2 separate regions of the Homo sapiens genome follow, and region 1 is linked to region 2. The links are contacts of gene promoters, found by promoter capture Hi-C in human tissues and cell types (Jung and others, 2019). All regions are on one chromosome and are shown on one strand. The core of a region is centred on a gene start or on the middle of the fragment in contact, and the rest is flanking DNA. Distances in the headings are between cores, read along the strand shown. Region 1 overlaps DCC (DCC netrin 1 receptor). Region 2 holds the start of MAPK4 (mitogen-activated protein kinase 4).

Region 1 (3,513 bases), core at 492-2,991, 1.9 Mb before region 2:
GGACCTACATGTGTGATTTTTTTAACCACCATGGTCTTATGACTGACATTCTTAGGTTCAACTCTTATGGTCTATATCACAGGGAAACCAGACAACACTTGAGTCTCTGCATGTAATTATTATTAAAAGATGAATCCTAAAATTTGCAAGAAACCTACTTGATTCATAGTGTTGAATAAGACAAAAATAGGACTTCCCATGTATAAAAGCGTTAATTATTATTGATAACAAAATGAAATAATCAGATTTAAAAAGGGGAATCCAGAGTTACATTTAAAGAATAGATTACCAATAACCTCTTGATGTATACTACAATATCTTTATAACTTTGTTTTTTCATCAACTACAACAAATACATACTTCTAATGTAAGTGTTAGAATTCATACATGGTTCCCATTATGTGTTTCTGTCATGATGACTAACCAATTTTTAGTGTATATAAAAAACAATTCATTATTTGCCAAATTGTTGTGTATTGCAAGAGGTACAAAATTGGACTTGATGTATTATAAAGAGCACTGAATTAGCTCAAAACTCTAGTCCCAGAATATACTGATCTTTGAGCCTTCATTACCTCATCTGTAATATAGCACTAATAATAACCATTCTGTCTTTCTCACCCAAATGATATTCAAATGAACGAATGGATATGAAAGCAATGTGAGTACTGTAAACAAATATAAATTAATAAATTCAAACATGATTTTGAAATTGAAACCCCTTCCACCCAAAGTTTTCAATGAACACAAGTGGGTTTAATTTTAAAATATTACTGATCGCAAATTAACCCTAATTAATAGATTTTCTATTTAGTTTCCTAAATATACAGCTCTCAAATACCTGGTTAAATAATTTCAGGGATATTAAAAATGAATATAATGCTCACATCATCCATAAACTTCATTAACAAGAATAATCTCATTTGATGTTCTAATAAAGATTAGTAAAAAATAAATAAATTTGTGACACTCTTCAGATTCTTTGTTGTTTTATTTATTTGCTTATGTCCCCATGAAAGGCCAGATGTTAGAGTGCAGAGGGAAACTGAAAGATGGAAGCACAGGACAGAATTACCGTTTGCCAATTTCCCTCTATCAACTCTCCAGAGAAGGCAATATCTGGGCCAGTATAAGCCACAGGTGAGCTCAGGCGGCACTCCTGCACACTGCAGGCTTCAAGATAAATCCACTCGTAGTACTCAGTTTAGGCTATGTAGCTTAAACATAAAAGAGTGATAGTGTATTTAATCGCAATGTCCATAAGTGATTATCAAGTATTAAACTCCTTTCAAGTTTGACTTGTATTTATCCGCAGCCAATTCTCCTTGAATTAAAGAACCATTTATGCAAATGCAACATGAAGCAAAGGAGAGAGATAAAGAGCTGCCTAAGACCTCATAAATGATGACATTCATCCTGTCTGATATTATTTGTTTTTCTTTAATAAAATTATATTATACACTGTCAAAAGAACCACTCCCTTGCACGAAGAGCAACAGAGGGTGCTTAGGCAAAAATTAGATGTGAGAAGCAGGAGGGACATTCCTTTATTTGGTCCCTCTTGAACATAAAAGGAATATAACATACATCAAATCAGAATAAGAAGAGCACATCAAAGAAGCTACCAATCCGCCGCTGAGCTGCAAATGTCCTCGTACATCAAAGGAGACCCAAGTCAGCAGGAAAAACCTCCAGTTTCAGTAGCCAGACCTGAGACCTGAGCCTCTCCACTCCTGATCATGAGAGCCATGCATTATTAAATAACCAACAAGACACGTGCAACACGGTGGAGATAAGCAGTGGTCAATGAAACCCAGGGAGCTAGTGATGAGGGGCGACAAAAAGGAGCAGCAGTGATTTCAAAGCTTGAACAAGACCAAAAAATATATAAAAGCCATCAGGGAAAGAAGATAAAAGTGGCAAACAGTGCAGCAAAGTGTGTGCTAGAGATAAAATAGGAGGAAGAAGAATCAGCAGAGGGAGTTCTGACATTTCCGATGCTTTACTGAAATGCTCTTGGGTTTCAAAGGTGTCAGAGTCTGAGGGATGATTTCTCTAGTTGAGCTCCAAGGGATCATCAGGCGAGATGGATGGAGGGCCTGAAAGCCATCCCCTTCAGAGAGAATGGGCAGTGCAAGATGAATCAAATGGGGCTTGACATTTCTGTTACATGAAGCTTATTGGTGAGACACTTGATAAGTGGTGATTATGCCTCGTGAAAAAAGGCTAGTGTCTCTGGAACATTTGTGGCCTCGGAATTTAGGATGCATGGCCAGGCTGAGTGGAGCTACGACCCTTCACTGTACTTGTTGCAGGGGTGTTCACTGAGCATTTCATCTGGCATTGGAACCATAAACAGCCAAGCCCATCTAATTCTTCAAAAGCACAACATATTATTTACCTTTAAGACGAACAATACTTTTTTCTTTTTCTTCATTTTTTTCTTCTTCTTTTGAGAACACAGAAAATCCACAGAATTTTTCCCCTTTTGAATATGCTACACTTAGCACAGTCCGTGGCACTAATTGGATTCTCGACAAATATATGTTGTATTGAAAGGGATAGGAGCCTAACTATTACACCCCCAAGGAATGTTCATTCACTTATTCAAAGAGAAAGTGAATGCTGATCTTTTTTTTTCTAAATGTTCTCTTCTTTCTTTATTATTATTGCTTTTCTTATTTTTTTTCATCAATCTTTACCTCCGGGACTAGAGCAGTGATTCACAAATGTAGCAAGCCTCCAAATCACCTAGAGGACTTGTAAAAGTGCAGCTTGCTGGGTCCCAACTCCAGCATTCTTGATTCAGTATATTTGGGTGAGTGTCCAAGGATTTACATTTCTAACAAGTTCTCTGGTGATGATGGTACTGCTGGTCCAAGAACCACACTTTGAGGATCACTGTGAAGGGTATTAAGGGCAAGTGGAAGTACCTTTCCATATGTGTCCATCTTTTGATGGGCTAATCCCTCCAGTTTTGTGGGGTGAACCTAAACCACTCATTCTGAGAAGCCAAAAATAAAGAGTTTGTAAATTCCTCTAAAAGGTTTGGGCATTAAAAGAGGATCAAGAAGTTTTATAGACAGTAATTTAAAGTGTCTAGTGAAAGCAATCATGCTTTTAGGTGCTGCCTGGAATTTTCTTAGTTAAAAAAATTATTTGAGAGTGTTTTCTCCATCCCTGAATTCACTATGTGCATTATTTCAGCATTTATTTCTTCCTAAACAACTGTGTTTCACTTCAATAGGAAATTCCCTATTGGAAATGCCATATAACTAGTACACTACAAACATAAACTGGCTTATTCCACAGCGGTTTTGCACAGCTCCTCTTTGTCATTTGTATGTATGTAAGAAATGAGAATTAATGAGTATTTTTACTATCATCCTCCATAGATTCCTACCACAAACCCAAAGCACCCCAGCACATTCATCATCTACCAGGCTCATCACTGTCCCAAGCTTTCCCTTCCCTAGCAAACAGAATCATCTGCTACTTGGCTGCCTTAGGCAA
Region 2 (3,570 bases), core at 851-3,350:
CTTTTTTTTAGTAATTGAAAAATACATGCAATTAATTTCTGACATGAAGAAAAATTACAATTAATCCCTCACTGCTCAAAAGCAGAATTCTAGGAGTTAGGTCAGTTGTCTAGAACTTCTGGATCAGATGATCCAAGGTTGCTTTGTTATTTAGTTTAAAGCACTGAGTATTCCCACAATAGCTGTTTAAGCACGGTATGACAGTAGCATTAAAAGGGAGGTGTCTTTTTGTCTGTCTCCAGCATGGATTCTCTGTCCCTTTGAGCATTAGGGCTTTGCCTTATTGCCCTTTGATTCCCTGTGATAACTCCATGGTGCTTTATGCAAAGAGGCTGACTTTTCTAATGCAAGGAAACTGAATTGGAAAGAGGTTCCAGAGCAAGCCTTTTTACTATTCAGCCCTGCTCCTGTCTGACAAACCCTCAAGCATAGAAGTGTACCCTCAAGTGTAGAAGACTAGCCCTTCATACACCACACAAGCGGTTTGGAAAGGTTAAAACGCAGGTCACTAAAGGAGTTGAAGACTCGAGGTTCAGAAGATATTATATTTTCTCTCCCTTGTTTCTATCCGTACCCCAAAAGTACACTGGGCAACCCTTCAGCAAAAAAGCCTTTAGTATTTAGTAGGTGCTCAGTAAATACATATTACAATAAGGTCATAGCATAGCTATCTTGAACATAGTAGGTACTCAATAAATATCTGTTACATTGAGAACGTCATGACGCTTCACCTTCGCACGGGGTAGGTGCTCAATACATATCCATTCAATTGAAAAGTCTGCAGTATACCTGCTTTTCACATAGTAGGTGCTCAATAAGTATATTTTACATTAAGGTTATTTAAGATAGCTGCCTTGCACACAGTAACCTCCCAGTAAATGGCTACTGAGCAGTTGTGGACACTCCTCAACCCAGGCAGGGGTGACATTAATCAACCCCCAGGCACAGATCCATGAATGGAAATGCACGTCTCGAGGTAGTGCTTTCGAGAGTGCTGGAGAGGCGCGTGACAGTACGCGGCCGCTGCGCTCTGTCGGGACGCTGCTGACCCACTGCTGGCTCCAGGGTATCGATTAGCGATCGGAATCCATTCCCCACCCAGGGGCGGGAAACAGCCGCCGCCTCCAATGGTCATTTCGGGGACGCACCTGGAACTCCCGCCACAGCCCCCTCCCGGGGCATCCGCCCACCCCGGCTTCACCTACGATTCCGTAGAGTAGCTGGCAGAACAAAAGCAAAAGCCGGCCTGACTTCCGATTGCTTTCCTGATAGAGAGCAACCCGGGAGGAGGCTCAGGGAGCCGGCCCGGGACCCAGCTGGGATGTCAAACCCGAGCCGCTGCCCTCTCCGGCAGGCTGGGGCTCTGGGTCGCCCAGCGGCGAAAGCGGCGGGGTCCCCCCACTCCCCCTCTCCCAGGGGCTACCTACCGCCAGTGTAGGCGCCTCTGTCGGGTGGCGAGGGGAGAGGACGCTGTATTAACCCTTCAACGAGAAAGGGAGAGGCTGGAGGGGAGGATAATCGGGACTGCGATCCGAATCTGAACTCGCAGTGTGAACTGCCCCTCGGCGACCCCAAGCGCTCCGGACTGTCCCCGGGGGTGGGGTCCCCTAGCGGCGCCCGGCCCCTGCGTCCTCCTCCCCTAAACACAACGCGAGGAGCCCAGCGGCAACCTCCCATCCCAAACGGGTCCAGGACAGCACCGGCGCGCGGTCTGCAGGCGAGGAGCTCACCCAGGGCAGCCGGGCGGGTCCCGCGGGAGACCCCCGCCGCTCGGAAACTCGCTAGTTTGGCAGTGGCTTGGCCTGGGGGGCTTATTGTTAGGGTAAGGTGGGGAGGCAGTGCGGGCGGGGAAGTCTCATCTCTTCCCCGCTTCTCCGGAGCCCGCCGAACTCCGAGAGGCGCAGGCGGCGGGAGGAGAAAGCCAGCGGAGGGGAGCCACTTACCGAGGCAGAGCCCGAGAGCGTGGCGGCCCGGGCGCGAGCCGCCCTTTGTCTGCGGCCGCGGCGCCGGCGCGCTCGGCCAGGCCGGTCCCAGCCACGGCGCACGGCGAGCTCCCGCGGTCGCCCCGACAGCCCGGCTCGCTGCTCCAGCTCGGGCTCCGGCTCCCGCCCCGGCCCCGGCCCCAGCCTGCGCCGCCGCCGCCTCGGCTCCGCCCAGAGCCGGGCCCCGCCCCCGCCCACTGGGCCCCCACCTGCTGCGGCGGTGGCGCTGGGGAGCCGGGCCCTGGGCGCCCGGGGGCGGCAGTCTCCCGCGCGCCCTGCTCTGCCCTCCCGCAGCCTCCAGGCCGCTCAGCCGCGCGGTCCTGGGGCCTTCCCGGACCCAGTCCCGCGGAGACGAGCTCACCTGGGGAGCCGAGCCCCGTCCCGGGTAGCCTGGCCTTCCCGGGGCACACGCGGTAGAGCTCCAGTCACTCAGAAGCCCTTCCTCACGCCCGCCGTGGGTGGGGGATCCTCGGGCTCCGTCCGGGAGGGAGGGGGCGCCGAGAAGGCGGGAAGCGGGGATCTGCCTGAGCCCGGTCGCCGCCCCGCCAGCCCCGCGCGGCTGCAGCCGCCGGGGGCCCGGTGGGAGGGTGGGTGGGGAGAAGGAGCCGGCGGGGACCGGTGGGCTCTGGAACCGGGGAGACCCGCGCGCGCGGGAAGGGGCACTGGGCCGAGGGTCGAGGGGGCGCGGAGCCCAAGTGCACCGGTCCCCAGCCGGCCTGGGATTCCGAGCGGGCCGCCTGGGCTGTGAATCTGTGCTCATTGGCATGACCGGAATAAAACTAACAAAAGAGAACCAACACTTTGGGATCCAGAGGAAAGGGACAGAAGAAGCCACTGGACCCTAACACTGGTAATAACTGGTGCTTCTGTGGTGCCTTCAGCGAGCCCAGAGCTGTGGGCACCGATGAGGGTCGTCACTGAACGCGGTGCGTCCCGTTGGAATGGTTGAGGCGCTGCTTTTCTAGGCATAGAAAAGTCTGATAACCTAAATATTGCATAATGAGGTCACTGGTGGCTTTAGCTGCCCATGAGCCTTCTCCTCTCCCAACTCCCAAAGCCTTCCGAGTGAGACCTGCGTTTTGGCACTTTCATAGGGTCTGCTGTGTACTGCAGTTATTCCCGCTTCGTCCCCCACCTCTACCCCCAGACCCTAATACAATTCCAGACGCTTAATAATTGTTGCAAGAATTCGCTGTCGAATTTTAGCGTGGGCAAAACATAAAAATGAAGGATTGTGGGATCATATTGGAAAATGCACTAAGGGTTTGCACAGTGATGGTGGTATGAAGGGTAATGAGTGTTGGCTGCCATTAGTACATAGTTGCGCTGCGACTCCTATGTGTGCAGGTAGTAGGTTTAGGATGATATGCTAAGTTAGAGACTGCAGTTATCAGGACCTTCATTAACCTCAGAGAATAGTTAGGGATAAGGAAGGAGTGTGTAACAAGCGAGTGTGTGTATATCTGTGGTAAGACATTCCAATGTGTCTTCCCCAAAGAGAACATTTTAACATTTTGCTTCCTTGATTTTCATTACAAGTAGTATCAATTCAGCAAGTAGGCATAAATATGAAATGTTTTGTGTTGAT

The links. The method cuts DNA at HindIII sites, captures the fragments that hold promoters and counts their contacts. A contact is called where the count stands out against the background at its distance.
Region 1: a contact is called between a fragment that was not itself captured here and the fragment with the promoter of MAPK4 in region 2, in 1 of the 25 tissues and cell types used here (lymphoblastoid cells).

Annotation. Positions count from the first base shown.
Region 1 is chr18:52,430,464-52,433,976 of GRCh38, reverse strand. All of the region lies in intron 1 of DCC (DCC netrin 1 receptor), which reads right to left. Among named protein-coding and RNA genes, the nearest start is that of DCC, 92 kb to the right of the region's middle. The HindIII fragment of the contact is 4,113 bases long and covers 1-3,513 here.
Region 2 is chr18:50,558,617-50,562,186 of GRCh38, reverse strand. It overlaps MAPK4 (mitogen-activated protein kinase 4), which reads right to left and starts at 2,100. Exons shown (of 6, transcript NM_002747.4): 1 at 1,944-2,100. The HindIII fragment of the contact is 20,188 bases long and covers 1-3,570 here.